Regions from separate parts of the Homo sapiens genome. Here region 2 is linked to region 1. The links are contacts of gene promoters, found by promoter capture Hi-C in human tissues and cell types (Jung and others, 2019). All regions are on one chromosome and are shown on one strand. The core of a region is centred on a gene start or on the middle of the fragment in contact, and the rest is flanking DNA. Distances in the headings are between cores, read along the strand shown.

Region 1 (6,498 bases), core at 1,437-3,936:
AGACTAAGGCGGGCAGATCACAAGGTCAGTAGATCAAGACCAGCCTGGCTAACATGGTGAAACCCCGTCTCTACTAAAAATATAAAAAATTAGCCAGGCGTGGTGGTGCATGCCTGTAGTCCCAGCTACTTGGGAGGGTGAGGCAGGAGAATCACTTGAACCAGGGAGGCAGAGGTTGCAGCAAGCCGAGATCGTGCCATTGCACTCCAGCCTGGGCGACAGAGCAAGACTCCGTCTCAAAAAAAAAAAAAAATATCGGATACAGCTATAATTGAAAAGTAGTGGGAACCTCTACTAAAAGAAAAGTCAAAACCACCAAGATGCATAATACCAAAGGACCTTCTCAGCTGAAAGATTTCTTGATGCTGGCCACTGAAATTGCAGCTCAGAGAGCTGAGACTAGACTCCCTTCTGATGTGCAGGGCCCATGTTCTCAGATAATCACAAACAAGATCCTGCAAATGTGTACCCCTCAGCTTTACTCTATCCTCCTCCCCCAAATTTCCATGCAATTTAAAGAGCTAATGAAGATGGTGTTTTTAAAGTGTCCTGGTGGGATGGGAAAGAGAGGGGGCTGATAATCCCACCGGACAGGGAGAATTCTCATCTTGTTCATTCAGAAAGGCCCAGCCCCCTGCCAGGTTGGACTCCCCTCCCCTCAAGGGGTAGCAGCGGACTCCAGAAAAAAGGCAGATGTGTTTGTATTTAAGAGATTGGAGGATTAAATGAGCTAGAGAGGCTCCCTCCACACGGCCTCATCCTCTGATGGCTGGAAGCCCACCTCTGAGTGTTATTAAATCGATGATGACATCATGGGCACTGCATGCCCCTCCCTCTGGAGCCCAGCAGGCTTGCAAAGCCTGCAGAGGATAAGAAATTGGGGTCAGAGCGGGAAGCCTCAATCCTTCTTCTCTGGTGTATACCGAGATCGATGTGTAGATCAGATTCACCAGAATTAAATCTGGGGCCCCGTCTGAGTGCTGTCCTTGGCTGACCCTTGGGCACAGTACTTCAGCTCAGGGCCTAGGTTTTTCTCTGCTACAAAACAGAGACAATCACCTGTTCTCCTTACGACCTGGTGTGTGTGGATCAAATGAAACAAGGAAAGCTTTAAAGCAAATGTGTTCTTCAGGGGACCAGGGGCGGAGGGGGGGGATTGAGGTGTGGCCTGTGGGCTGCTAGAGCCCAGGATGGGGCTGATGGAAAATGACTCCCAGGCAGGCAGTCCTAGCCTCCCACAGCCAAGAAAGGACATGCAGGTTCTGACCAAAGGGGAAAGAAATAAATCCAATAAACATCTCCCAAGAAGAAAGACAGGAAAGAAAATAGAATGGAAATAGGCATAGCTCAGACCCCTCATGGTCTGGGAAGCAGACCAAGGATACTGGGCAGGGGAATGGCACATTGCATTTGCATCTGAGGCACATCCCTTCCAAGAGGCACATCCCTTCTGCAGCGGCTTGAGGGCTGGGTGAGAGGAGACAGGACTGGAGACCTGCACATGTCGTGTGCGCCTGGTGTAGCACGGGGGTGGTGGGGAGAATGGGAGTTGGTTGCAGTTGTTCTAGTTAGCGGCCTGGGCTGCTGACAGTGACCGTGGGGAGGAGAGAGTTTGTGACATTGACAGTGGTGTGGAAGGTAACCTTTCTGTGGAGGGAAACCTCAGGTCTCGAGACGGGCTATTGTAAATAACTTAGTCCACCAGTGCTGGGCTCTCTGCTAAGAGTTTCATATAGTCATCACAACTCCAATGTAGTAGATGCAATAGGCATCTTCTTGTTACAGATGAGTAAACTGAAGCTGTGAGGGGTTGAGCCATTTGCCCGCATCACAGCTAGTTCAAAGTGGTACCACTAATGAAGTCCTGGCAATCTGCCCTGCAGGCTGTTCTCAGGTTTGACCTTTGGTTCTGTTTTTCACTTGAGGATGCTGTCCCCTTAGGTTCTGTCTGTCTTGTATGCTCCGGTGACTCACGAGCCTGTCCACTGGGTTCCCAGGTCTCGCCTCAGCTTCAGACCACCGGTCCAACAGCCTTCCTGACCCACCTCAAGCTTAATGCGTTCAAAGATGAATCTTTATTTACACGAAATCTGCTCTAGCCCACTTCCCGGGGGGTGCCTCCACTATCCACCCAGGGGCAGAATCCGGCCACTGCCTGAACTCTTCTCCCCTCACCCCCCACATCCAGAGTCCCAGTCACCATACCTCTCACACGACTCTAGATGTCACCAACTCGCTCCTTCCCACTGTCACCGCCAGCCCCTCACTAGAACATCTGCAACCCACGTGCTGCACCACGCGGGTGCTACACGTGCAGGTCTCCAGTCCTGCCTCCTCTCCTCCACCCGTAAGAACAAGGGAAATCCCACAGAACCCTCTGCCCCGGGGAGCATTTAAATCAGCTTAGTCTATCTCCAGGTCGCTACCCCGCCCCAGCCCAACACCCAGGCCTCAGTCACCCTAGACAGAGATTCCCGTACCCAGGCAGGCAAGGGACCCTAACACATCCCAGCCCGCTGGTGGTCACGCGCGCAGCCCGGACAGGCCAGCAGCCCCCGCCCCGCGAGGACGCCACACTCGCAGCGCCCGGCCCTCCCCTAGCGGAGCCCGCCCCGTCTCCCTCCGCCCCGCCTCCCTCCGCTCCGCTCCGCTCCGCTCCGCCCCGCCCCGGGTCCGCAGCCCCGCCTGTTCCTCCCGAGGGCCGCGCGCTCTCGCCGGCCCGCCCCGAACCGCCCCGCGCTGGGAATTTGCGGCGGCCTCCGCCGGGGCAGCCGAGCTGAACCGGTCTCTTCCTCGGAAAGGCAGGGCCGAGGGGCCTGCGGGGCAGCCATGGAGGCGACGCGGAGGCGGCAGCACCTGGGAGCGACGGGCGGCCCAGGCGCGCAGCTGGGCGCCTCCTTCCTGCAGGCCAGGTGGGCGCGCGCCGGGGTGAGAGGGCGGGCTAGGCGCCTGTGCGCTGGGGCCTCGGGACCCGCCACGTGACGCTCCTAGGGCTGCCGGGCGGGAACCTCGTGTGCGGCGCTGGCCGGGGCGGAGCGGAGCGCGGGGGGCTTGGAGGCGCGCTACCGTGGCGGCGGTGCCCCCGCGTTTCCTTCTCTGTCTGGGGAGCCTGGGGCCCAGCGGGGCTCGGCCTCCCCGCTTCGCCGTTGCTCGGGTGGGAGGAGCGCCCGCCCGAAGTTTGGGGTTTTCCTCCCTTCCCGCGTTCCAGCGACCCGGGCTGGCGCCGGGACAGCCGCTGCGCTGGGAGAGCTCCCCAGGGCGGTGGGTACACACACCTCGTCACTCGGACCCCCAACTTATCCGCAAGTTCCGGGCGCCACCTCCGCGTTCTCGGGGTCCCTCCAGCCCTGAGTAGGACTTGATTCTGTCATTTATCAGGAGGCTGTCTGCTTGACCTGGGGCACCCAAGAATGTGCGAATGTAATGGAAGAGACAGCGGGGAAGGGCGGAAGCTGCCGTCCAGAGAATGAATGAGGAGCCCTTCTCAGTTTTTGGTTTATCTCGTTGGGCGAGCAGAGCTCCATTCTACCTTCGTCCCGTTTTACTGACCAGAAACATTCACTGCATTCAGCAGGCATTCTTTAAGCGCCTGTGGTATGCCCAGCGCTGTGCCAGGCAGTAAGGGGGTAGGCAGGGTGAAGGTGGGAGAGGCTTACGGTCCTGTAGGGATCAGGAGAGACAGAGCCCAAGTGGGAGTGAGCGGTCATCTTGGAGGGCTTCATGGAGGAAGTGGCACTTGAGCTGAGTCTCAGAGGACTTGGTAGGGGACCCAGGGAAGACAGGCTGTTCCATCCAGGGAAACAGTGGGGAAGGGCAAGGAGTTTAGTGGTGCTGGAGCTTTCCGGCTGTAAAAGAAAGTGACAGGAGGATGCAGACTGATTGTGAAGGGCCTTTAATTGCAGCAAGTCTAGGACTCGAGTTGAGGACCTAGATTGCAAAACTTAGGGGTAGGCGCACTGCCGTGACCGTGAGTGCCGCCTCAAATGTTGGGCCTTGGAGGCCTTGCTTGTCTCACCCTAGTTCCTGTCCTAGGTGACAGGTTAAGGACACAGTCTTTATCCCATAGGCACTGGGGAGTCGTGAGAAGTTTCTGAGCACTAGCATGCGCAAAGTCCTTGTTAGGAAGTTTTTGGTACGACCTGGATGAAGGGAGAAGTCTGAGCGCTTGGGCTGAGGTGAGGGATGGCTCGTTTCTGCTGCTGCGGACATGCGGGCTGAGCAGCTGCGGACTGTGTCCGTTTTCACTTAGAAACAATGTACTGGCCATAGACCGCATACTGTAGCTCACCTGTCTCCCTCGGCCTGTGAGTTAAGTATTATTTTACTGATGAGGAAATAGGCTTAGATGGGCTGAGGAGCCTGACTGGCTGAGTCCCCGGGCTGTCTGCCCCACGCCGTGTCCAGTGGTTTCATCTCTGCTGTGACCCAACCCATTTACCAGCTCCCCTCTTCCAGGCAGCCTCTTCTGCCTGCGGGATGTCTCTGTTCCGAATCCTTGCCAAGTTGGGGGTCACTGACTGCCCTGAACTGTGACAGCCCAATGGGAACAGCCTGTGGGTCTCAGATAGGGTCACCACTTTATCTCCTGTGTGGGGCTCCCATGTCTAGCATCTTACTCAGTCTTGACAATGAGCTGCCAGATGTCACTTCCAATGTACAGATGGGGAAATGGAGGCCCAAAGAGGTTACATCATTTGCTGGCAAGAACCAGGGCCTAAACCCAGGGTTTCTGACTTACGGGCTCTGCTCTTACGACTCCACTTTGGCTGCTAAGGAGTCATGTCCCTCTTCCCCTGTGTGAGCTCCCCACCAGCCAGGGTATTCCCAGGGGGGTGGTGTGAGGGTGGGAGCTCTCTGTCTCCCAGGGTGTCTCTGCCCCCCACAATGTGGCTTCAGCCCATTCCCAGTATCATTGCTGCTCAAGAGAGTAGGCAGAATCATCCTGTCCAGTTCCTAGGATGCTTGGATTTCCTCTGCTGCATCCGTGCTTTGCTCACTACCTCTTAAGGTAACCCATTCCAACGTCCACCTGCTTTGTTGCCAGTTTTTGTATTATAATGAAAGTGTTACAATTAGGCCGGGTGCCATGGCTCACGCCTGTAATCCCAGCACTTTGGGAGGCCAAGGTGGGTGGATCACTTGAGTCCAGGAGTTCGAGACCAGCCTGGCCAACATGGAGAATCCCCGTCTCTACTAAAAAATACAAAAATTATCCAGGTGTGATGGCCCATGCCTGTAATCCCAGCTACTCAGGAGGCTGAGGCACCAGGATCCCTTGAGCCTGGGAGGCGGAGGTTGTAGTGAGCCGAGATGGCGCCACTGCACTCCAGCCTGGATGACAGTGAGACTGTCTCAAAAAAAAAAAAAAGTAAAAAAAGAAAAGAAAAGAAAGTATTATAATTAGTGCCCGTGATAAATCAAATAGCAAAGGCTTCAAGTTTTAAAAAGTAGTAATCCCTGTCCCACTCTTCCCTAGCACCAGAGACAATCACCCTAGCTTCTTTTAGCTCTTTTTTCCAGAGTCAAATTCCTATTTCCAAATAATATGTTTATAACAATAAAAAACACTAGCACTTTTTATGGATCAGGCCCTGCTCTTAAGTTTTTGCATGTATTAATTAAACCACGACCCTTGAGATACGATCTACTGGCCAGGTGTGGTGGCTCATGCCTGTAATCCCAGCACTTTGGGAGGCCGAGATGGGCGGATCAGGAGGTCAGGAGTTCAAGACCAGCCTGACCAACATGGAGAAACCCTGTCTCTACTAAAAATACAAAAATTAGCCAGGCATGGTGTCATGCGCATGTAGTCCCAGCTACTCGGGAGGCTGAGGCAGGAGAATTACTTGAACTCAGGAGGCGGAGGTTGCGGTGGGCCAAGATCGCGCCATTATACTCCAGCCTGGGCAACAAGAGTGAGACTCCGTCTCAAAAAAGAAAAAAAAGGGATAGGATCTACTATTATCTCCATTTTACAAATGAGGACATTAAGGCCCAAGAAGTTAAGTGACTTGCTCAAGATCTGGTTAGTGGCAGAGCTGGGATATGAACCCAAACAGTCTCCAAAGTCCAGACTCTTTTTTTTTTTTTTTTTTGAGATGGAGTCTCACACTGTTACCCAGGCTGGAGTGCAGTGGCATGATCTCAGCTCACTGCAATCTCCGCCTCCCGGGTTCAAGCGATTCTCCTGCCTCAGCCTCCCAAGTAGCTGGGATTACAGGTGCTCGGCACCACGCCCAGCTAATTTTTTGTATTTTTAGTAGAGACGGCGTTTCACCATGTTGGCCAGGCTGGTCTCAAACTTCTGACTTTGTGATTCACCCGCCTCAGCCTCCCAAAGTGCTGGGATTACAGGCCTGAGCCACCGCGCCCAGCCAAGTCCACACTCTTAAAAACTACACTCAACTGCTATTTCTTGGTTTATTTTATTTTATTCTTTTTTTGAGATGGAGTTTCACTCTTGTCCCCTAGGCTAGAGTGCAGTGGTGCCATCTTGGC
Region 2 (6,902 bases), core at 517-3,016, 760 kb after region 1:
AAAATTCCACTTTATGGTATGTATTCTAAGATATACCTTAAATGTGCCAAATGATATATACACAAAGTTATTCATTGCAGCACTGTAATATGAAAAAACTGAAAACAACCCAAAAATCTACCGATGGGGGAAGGGTACATAAATTATGGCACATCCATGCAATGAAATAACATGTTGCTGTAAAAAAGAAATGATACTGCTCAGGTGTCTGAATCTGAAAAAAAAGAAATGAGAACATTTTTAATGAAGTGTTAGAGAAAGCTCTCCAAAGAAAAAAGTGAGATTCAGAACAATATGTATTATAGGCTACATTTTGGGTATAAAAGGGGGAAAAGGATCACCTGTATGTGTATTTACTTGTATATGTAAAAAGATGCTCTGAAAGGATATATAGACACAGAATGGTGGTTACCTTTGTAGGATGAGGTGGGAACTGATCAATGGAAAGGAGGTTTGTCCATGTGTGACTGTTTCCACCTTTTGCCTTTTGAACCATGTGAATATATTATGTATTTCAAAGAATTAAATGAGAACCCCATTAAACTTGATTTTGAAGACAAGAGTTGAAGATGTATATTTCATGCATATTTTTAGTGTGTGAACTGTTTATTTTTTAAAAAACATAGTCAAGCTTTTCTAGATGGTTCATAGTATAAGTGACATGCTCTTTTCCATGCCGTGTTATTTGCTTGGAAATCTGTGCTATGTATAGGAAACCATGTCCAGTTACATGTTCTTTTTAAAATCTAAGACTCCAGCCAGGCGCAGTGGCTCACGCCTGTAATCCCAGCACTTTGGGAGGCTGATGGGGGCGGATCATGAGGTCAGGAGATCGAGACCATCCTGGTCAACATGGTGAAACCCCGTCTCTACTAAAAATACAAAAAAATTAGCCAGGCATGGTCGCGGGCGCCTGTAGTCCCAGCTACTCGGGAGGCTGAGGCAGGAGTATGAACCTGGGCGTGAACCTGTGAGGCGGAACTTGCAGTGAGCCAAGATCGTGCCACTGCACTCCAGCCTGGGCGACAGAGCGAGACTCCGTCTCAAAACAAACAAACAAACAAAAAAACCCTAAGACTCCTCTATGAACATCCGGTCCATTTAGTGCTTCTGTGTGAGACTCAGAAGCTGAGGCTGAGCTCAGAGCAGACGAGAAGCCAATGGATAATGGCAATATTCCTGGAGACAACCTCGTCACACAGGGAAGTACATCCTCTTTTCAAAGAAGAGCTTTCTCTATGGCCTCAACAAGGGACTTCTTTAGGGATGAGCACAAGCTCCACTCTGGGGCTGGATCACTGATTCTCAGCTGATGCAAGGCAGGTTGGAATGTGTCACAGTTAAACACAGGCCGAGGTTAAATCTTGGCTTCCCTACTTGCTTGCCTACTGACCTTTAACAAATTGCTTAACATCTCTTAACCTTGTCTTCCTATCTAAAAATGGGCATAATAACAGCACCTGCCTAATATATTGGACTGCAAAAAGATTCATGGAAAGCACTTAGTAAAGTACTCGGGGTGGAGTAAAGGCTCTGTGTCCTTTGGTAAACTGGAGGGCTTTGCTACTCACCCTTATATCCTCTGTGCTTAGTAGAGTGCCTGGCACAAAATAGGCATTGGGTAAGTATCTGCAGAATTTACTTCTAGTTGATTCTTGCTGAAAGTAGTAACTGATGGTTAAGGTAAAGGCTGATGAGAACTTAGGATATGACCTGTCACAATATTACTCCTTTCTAAAAGATCCTGCAAGAAAAAGACCTTTTAAGCGAAGGCTGTAGTATAGAGGGATGGGCCCTTCCTGTGTCCCCGTACAGGAGATGTCCCTTCCTTCAGCCATCCGCAACACATGAGGCTGCCTGGGCCAGGCTTGGTGCAGAGTCCCTTTCTGTAGGCCCCGTAAGATCAAATCCCCCAAGTGACCCTGGGGATCATGTAGCCCTCCTTTATTTTAGAAATGAGGAAACTGAGGCCAGAAGAGAAGATCAGAACTCATGATCCCTAACTCCCAGACCAGTACTCTTCACTCCAAATGTCCAGTGACCACATTTGGAATAGGTGGGAATTTCAGAGGTTAGCCTTTTCTAGTAAAACAGGAGAAAAAAAAAGACAAAATATTCTTGGTAGAAGTCTAGTCTTATTAAACTACCTTTCTAAATCACAATTTAACAAGAATGCTTCAAGCTAAATAAAGGAAGCTCAAAATACTCCTTTTCACTGGATAATATAATTTTGCTTCAGCCACAATTTAAATTGATTTAGTTCTGAGCTCCAGCACTTGAAGTGTGGAACATATTGTATTTTCGCCATGATACTTGTTTTGACAGTGATGCATTTCAGTTGACATAGTTGAAATCCTTATGTAATAAATCTCTGCCTGAAAATTAATCATGTTTATAATATTCTGAGAATTAATAACACCCATTGCTCAAATCATTAACTTAAAAAAGGAGCTTCCAAAATCTGTTCTCGGCAGTAAGGGACCACAAATAAATGAATGTTTGATAAAATAATCCAAGTAGCAGTTTAACAAGCGTAAACTTGAATGTGGCTGCAATAACACAGAACTATTGTTTAAGGGTTGGCAGAGGCTGATGAGGTTCTTATTTCAGTTACGAAGCAGGCATCCACATGCATAATGAACTGCTCTCTGAATTATTAATGTGTTGCTTATTTAGCCTCATCTGTCTAGAAGATAATGTATCCTAACTCTAATGAGTGATTGGTTTTGTACATAATTACAGTAGCAGCAGTAGCAGGGAAATGTGTGCCTTCAAAGAAGGAGTTCTAAAAATAAAGTCATCACATAAACTCTGCTGTTGTTGCATTCTATCAAAATCAAACCCGAAGCATTTGAGAATTTATAATAAATTACAGGAGACAGAATCATTATTAACATCATAATTTAACACAAAAGGTTTTACTTAATCATTCATTACAGATCATGTGCTGCTAAAATGTGTATAAATGACTTGGGTTGTGTTAAGATGTTTGCAAAGATGTTCCCTTTTGGACACTCACCAACCATGGTATGGAGGGTCCAGAAAGAGCGAGGAAGAGTGAAAAACTGACAGAAAAGGGTAATGATTGATGCCGGTTTGGACAGAACATTAATTGAAAGTTAAAACACTGTTAGGCGATTCCTTTTCATTTCTAAAACACGCACGTCTGGGATTTATCAGGCCTTGTTTACACCTTCAAGTGGTTCTTTGTGGAGGTCAGTGAATCAGAAACCCATTCACCTGGTCTAAATGGGTCTGAGTGACAGTTCTCCCACCTGTTTCTGAGATGAGACAACAGCTCTTCTGAGAGCCCAGGAAGGTGTTTGCTTTCCTTCTATATAGCATATTATTAAAGAAAAGGGCCCACACTGGAAGCATTTTATAGGCATTAGTTTTGAATGCGCTCTCATTATCATTGTGGTTTCATCTGTGCATTTTCTTCTCCTTCAGTCTTCAAAGGGGGCTGTCAACTGCCTGATCATAAACTTGACGGCATCATAGTCTGTTCACACTTGTTCAGGAAGCTTCGATTTGCTTGTGAGTTGTACCGCGTGTGCATGTGCACATGCTTCTTTTTAAAAAAATCGCTGATCATATGTGTACACATGCACAGGAGGGTGTGTGCACAACCCAAGCATAGTGGCACAAGGGTGGGAACATCTGTATCTTTCTAAAATGAAAAGCCCTTTCAATTTATTCCTACACCAGAAAACCTGCATAGCTTTTCTCTAGTGATTTAAGAGGTATTGGCCTTATTGAAGATCATAATGCCTCCCTTTTGTGTGCATGCACTTCCTAAAAATGTTTAAGACTTGATCACAGGAGAATGTTGCCTATAGCTAGGAATGAAACCTATAGGCAACATGGGGAAAATGGAAGAGTGCTTCTCACTCAAAGCACAACTTCTGCTGATAGCCTTCTGAAGCAACATACTTCAAAGCTGCAATTGTCTTTGGAAGTCTTGTGCTGAATACCACTCTGCTTCCAGCTTTATTTTTATTTTTATTTTTTGAGACAGAGTCTCACTCTGTCAACTAGGCTGGAGTACAATGGCGCGATCATGACTCACTGCAGCCTCGACCTCCAGGGCTCAAGTGATCCTCCTGCCTCAGCCTTCCCAGTAGCTAGGATTATAGGCATGCACCACCATGCCCGGCTAATTTTTGTATTTTTGTAGAGACAGGGTTTTGCCATGTTGCCTAGGCTGGTCTAGAACTCCTAGGCTCAAATGATCTGCCCGCCTCGGCCTCCCAAAGTGCTGGGATTACAGGCGTGAGCCACCACACCTGACCCCCAGCTTCTTGCAGAAATGGCATAGACTTAGGTTCACTGGCCAGAAGGGCTCAAGTGTCACTGCTGTTTCTCCCTCTAGCACTGAACATAGGGTCTCTCAGGTCTCTTTGGTGAGGATGGAGGCCACAGGTGGAGATGGACCTGAAAGCCTCTTAGCAAGGTCCTGGGTCATAATTAAAAGAGGTCTGTTTCTCCTCTCCAGCTCAACTCTGCTTCTCTTCTTACTAAGGAAAGAGATCAAGGGGATTCTTGTGAGCAAGGTTCTTCCTGGTACCTGATTGGGCAACTGGATGAAGAAGAGGGAAAGGAAAAAGCTGCCTGAGCCCCCCAAGACATCAGGTGCCCTCCTTATGGTGACTGCAGAGATCCTGGGAAGAGTCAAAGGTTATTCAAATCCAGACTGGACCCAAAGGGGTTCACAGAGAGGCAGGAGACCGCTTGGAAAAGGTATCTCTGGGACACTCATGTTGGGTCCCATTAATCACTAGAGTTCCTCTTTTATCTGTTTGATATATTTGGATTTCAAGTAGAGCTTCATTTGCAAAAAAGTATGAAGCCCACTGTTGTAAGGAAAGGCCAAAGAAACCCTCTGGCAGCTGTGAGAGCACCGTGGCCAGAGAGTCCCCAATACACTCTTGCACAAAGGGCATCTGGTCCCCTTGGCCTTTGTTCTCTCTCTCCATGACCAACCTAGCCTACTCAATCAAGCACCCACTGTCCCCATGGGGCTATGCCCTTTGTTACTCAGGGTGCTGAGGTTGGTAACCCGCAGCCAGCCCCAGGACTCTGGCCCCAGCCCCCTCACTGATGGAGCTAGCAATAAGAAGGGAGGAGGCGGCAGCTGTGGGAAGAGGTGGAACATGATGGGGCTCCTTAACCAAGCTGGGAAATGGGATTTTCCTGAAGATCACAGGAGTCCATTCAAAATCACACACAGGGGAACAACATGCTCAGACTGGCTTTTCACCTTGCCACCTTGGCTGCCGTGTCTGTTTAGGCTGAGGGCACAGGCAGGGACAGGGAATCTTAGGAGGAATACAGGTGTGAGATGGTGGAAGCCGACACTAAGACACTATCTTTGTGGAGAGAGAGGAGGGGTCAGGTTAGTGGCATTTTCGTAGCTAGACTCAACACGCCCTGCTTGCTGACTGGATGTGGGGCTGGGGGTTATCTTATCAGCCTCTGGCCTGATCCACTAACAGGAAGTACAGGAGGAAGAAAGACAAATGTGATGCAGTTTTGGATAGCTTGACTCTGAGGATTCGAAGCAGAGATGTTCTATAGAATTTTGGACCCATGAATCTGAAGCTCACAAAAGAGAGTGGGGCTAGAAAAATATGGGTTTTGTGTGAAACAGCTTGTAGTTGAGGCAATGGGTGTAGGTGTACCTGCCTAGAAAAAGGGGAGGAGAGCCCCATGCTCTTTCGCATTTCCACAGATGGCAGGTTCATTCGGGAATGGCTTCTCCCTTTCCTCTGACCAACACATTCGCATTTCCAGACCCTGCTCAGACAAGTCCAATGACTTGCCTTAGGCTCTTTCTTCTTCCTGTACTCAAAGATCCTGGCTCCTAGACAGAGCTCAGGCAGTGGCAGTGGGTGTTGCTGAACACCGAGAACCTTCAGGAAGCACCTCTTGCTTACCGGCATTGACAGCGCACTCATGCATTTGGTTTTCTTCCTTTCCTTTGGAACAAAGCGGGGCACTTCCAGGGTGCTCAAACTGCAATCCAGATGGCCGTTTGTCAGGTATAAGGTGAGTTGAGTCAGGGCCAGCTGGTCACTATATGCGAGGTTAAGGCCGGTTGCCCACACCTGATTAAAACAGGAGCCGTAGAAGTGAGGGTGAAATCAGCAAACAGCAGCGAAGGCCCCACCTCTGCCTAACCAGACCAAACTACATCAGACTAAGTGAAACCAGTGACCATGTGTCTTAATGGAGTAGATGTTTTTCCTTCTGTTTGTACATTGTTCAACTGAGAGATGGAGTCTGATTCTAATCAGAAGATTCAAGGTTCTTGTGGGAAGTTACAGAAATACTTGGCCAAGACAATCTGACAGAGATGCCGAGTCTTGCAAAGCTCATGTTGACTTTGATTTTTCTGCCTATGGCCTGCAGGTCAGTGCAGGTGGTCAGTGCCAGGTTTTCTACTGAGAAAATGAGACTGAAGCTTTGGAGGGTGGGGAACTACAGTAGAGCAGAAAGACGGGAAAAGAGTGATGAATATGAGAAAGGGCAGTTTGCCCTGATTTTGGAAAAAGCAGTGACAGCCCCTCTGGGAGCCTCAATATGATATTTAAGGGAAACTAATGGTTGGCCTCTAAGTCTTAGGTCTACCCCCATTTTCTCATGAGAGTGAAGGGTAATCTTATTTTACCAGTCCTACAATGTCACAGTATTCTCAATTGTCAATTGGTGATAACACCTTATCCTAGCTGTATCACAGTGTTATTAGAAGAATATTATGATGCAATAAAAATAAAAATAAAAATGCTTTAAAAAATAGACATTGGTTATAAGTTAATGTCAACTGCTAGGTAACTGAGTAATGTCCACTAATTCGTTTGACAAATATTTACTGAGCATCTACTATGTGCTAAACTGGCAAT

The links. Contacts are between HindIII fragments. The study calls those that stand out against the background at their distance.
Region 2: a contact is called between a fragment that was not itself captured here and the fragment with the promoter of CLN6 in region 1, in 1 of the 25 tissues and cell types used here (lymphoblastoid cells).

The regions. Positions count from the first base shown.
Region 1 is chr15:68,225,916-68,232,413 of GRCh38, reverse strand. It overlaps CLN6 (CLN6 transmembrane ER protein), which reads left to right and starts at 2,686. Exons shown (of 7, transcript NM_017882.3): 1 at 2,686-2,912. The coding sequence starts at 2,830. RefSeq lists enhancers at 1,942-1,991, 3,222-3,301, 3,332-3,401 and silencers at 2,643-2,822, 2,592-3,181. The HindIII fragment of the contact is 6,678 bases long and covers 1,581-6,498 here.
Region 2 is chr15:67,464,332-67,471,233 of GRCh38, reverse strand. It overlaps IQCH (IQ motif containing H), which reads right to left. Exons shown (of 21, transcript NM_001031715.3): 17 at 5,937-6,107. IQCH-AS1 (IQCH antisense RNA 1) reads left to right here. Exons shown (of 6, transcript NR_040052.1): 3 at 4,523-4,740. Among named protein-coding and RNA genes, the nearest start is that of C15orf61, 53 kb to the left of the region's middle. The HindIII fragment of the contact is 6,457 bases long and covers 1-4,994 here.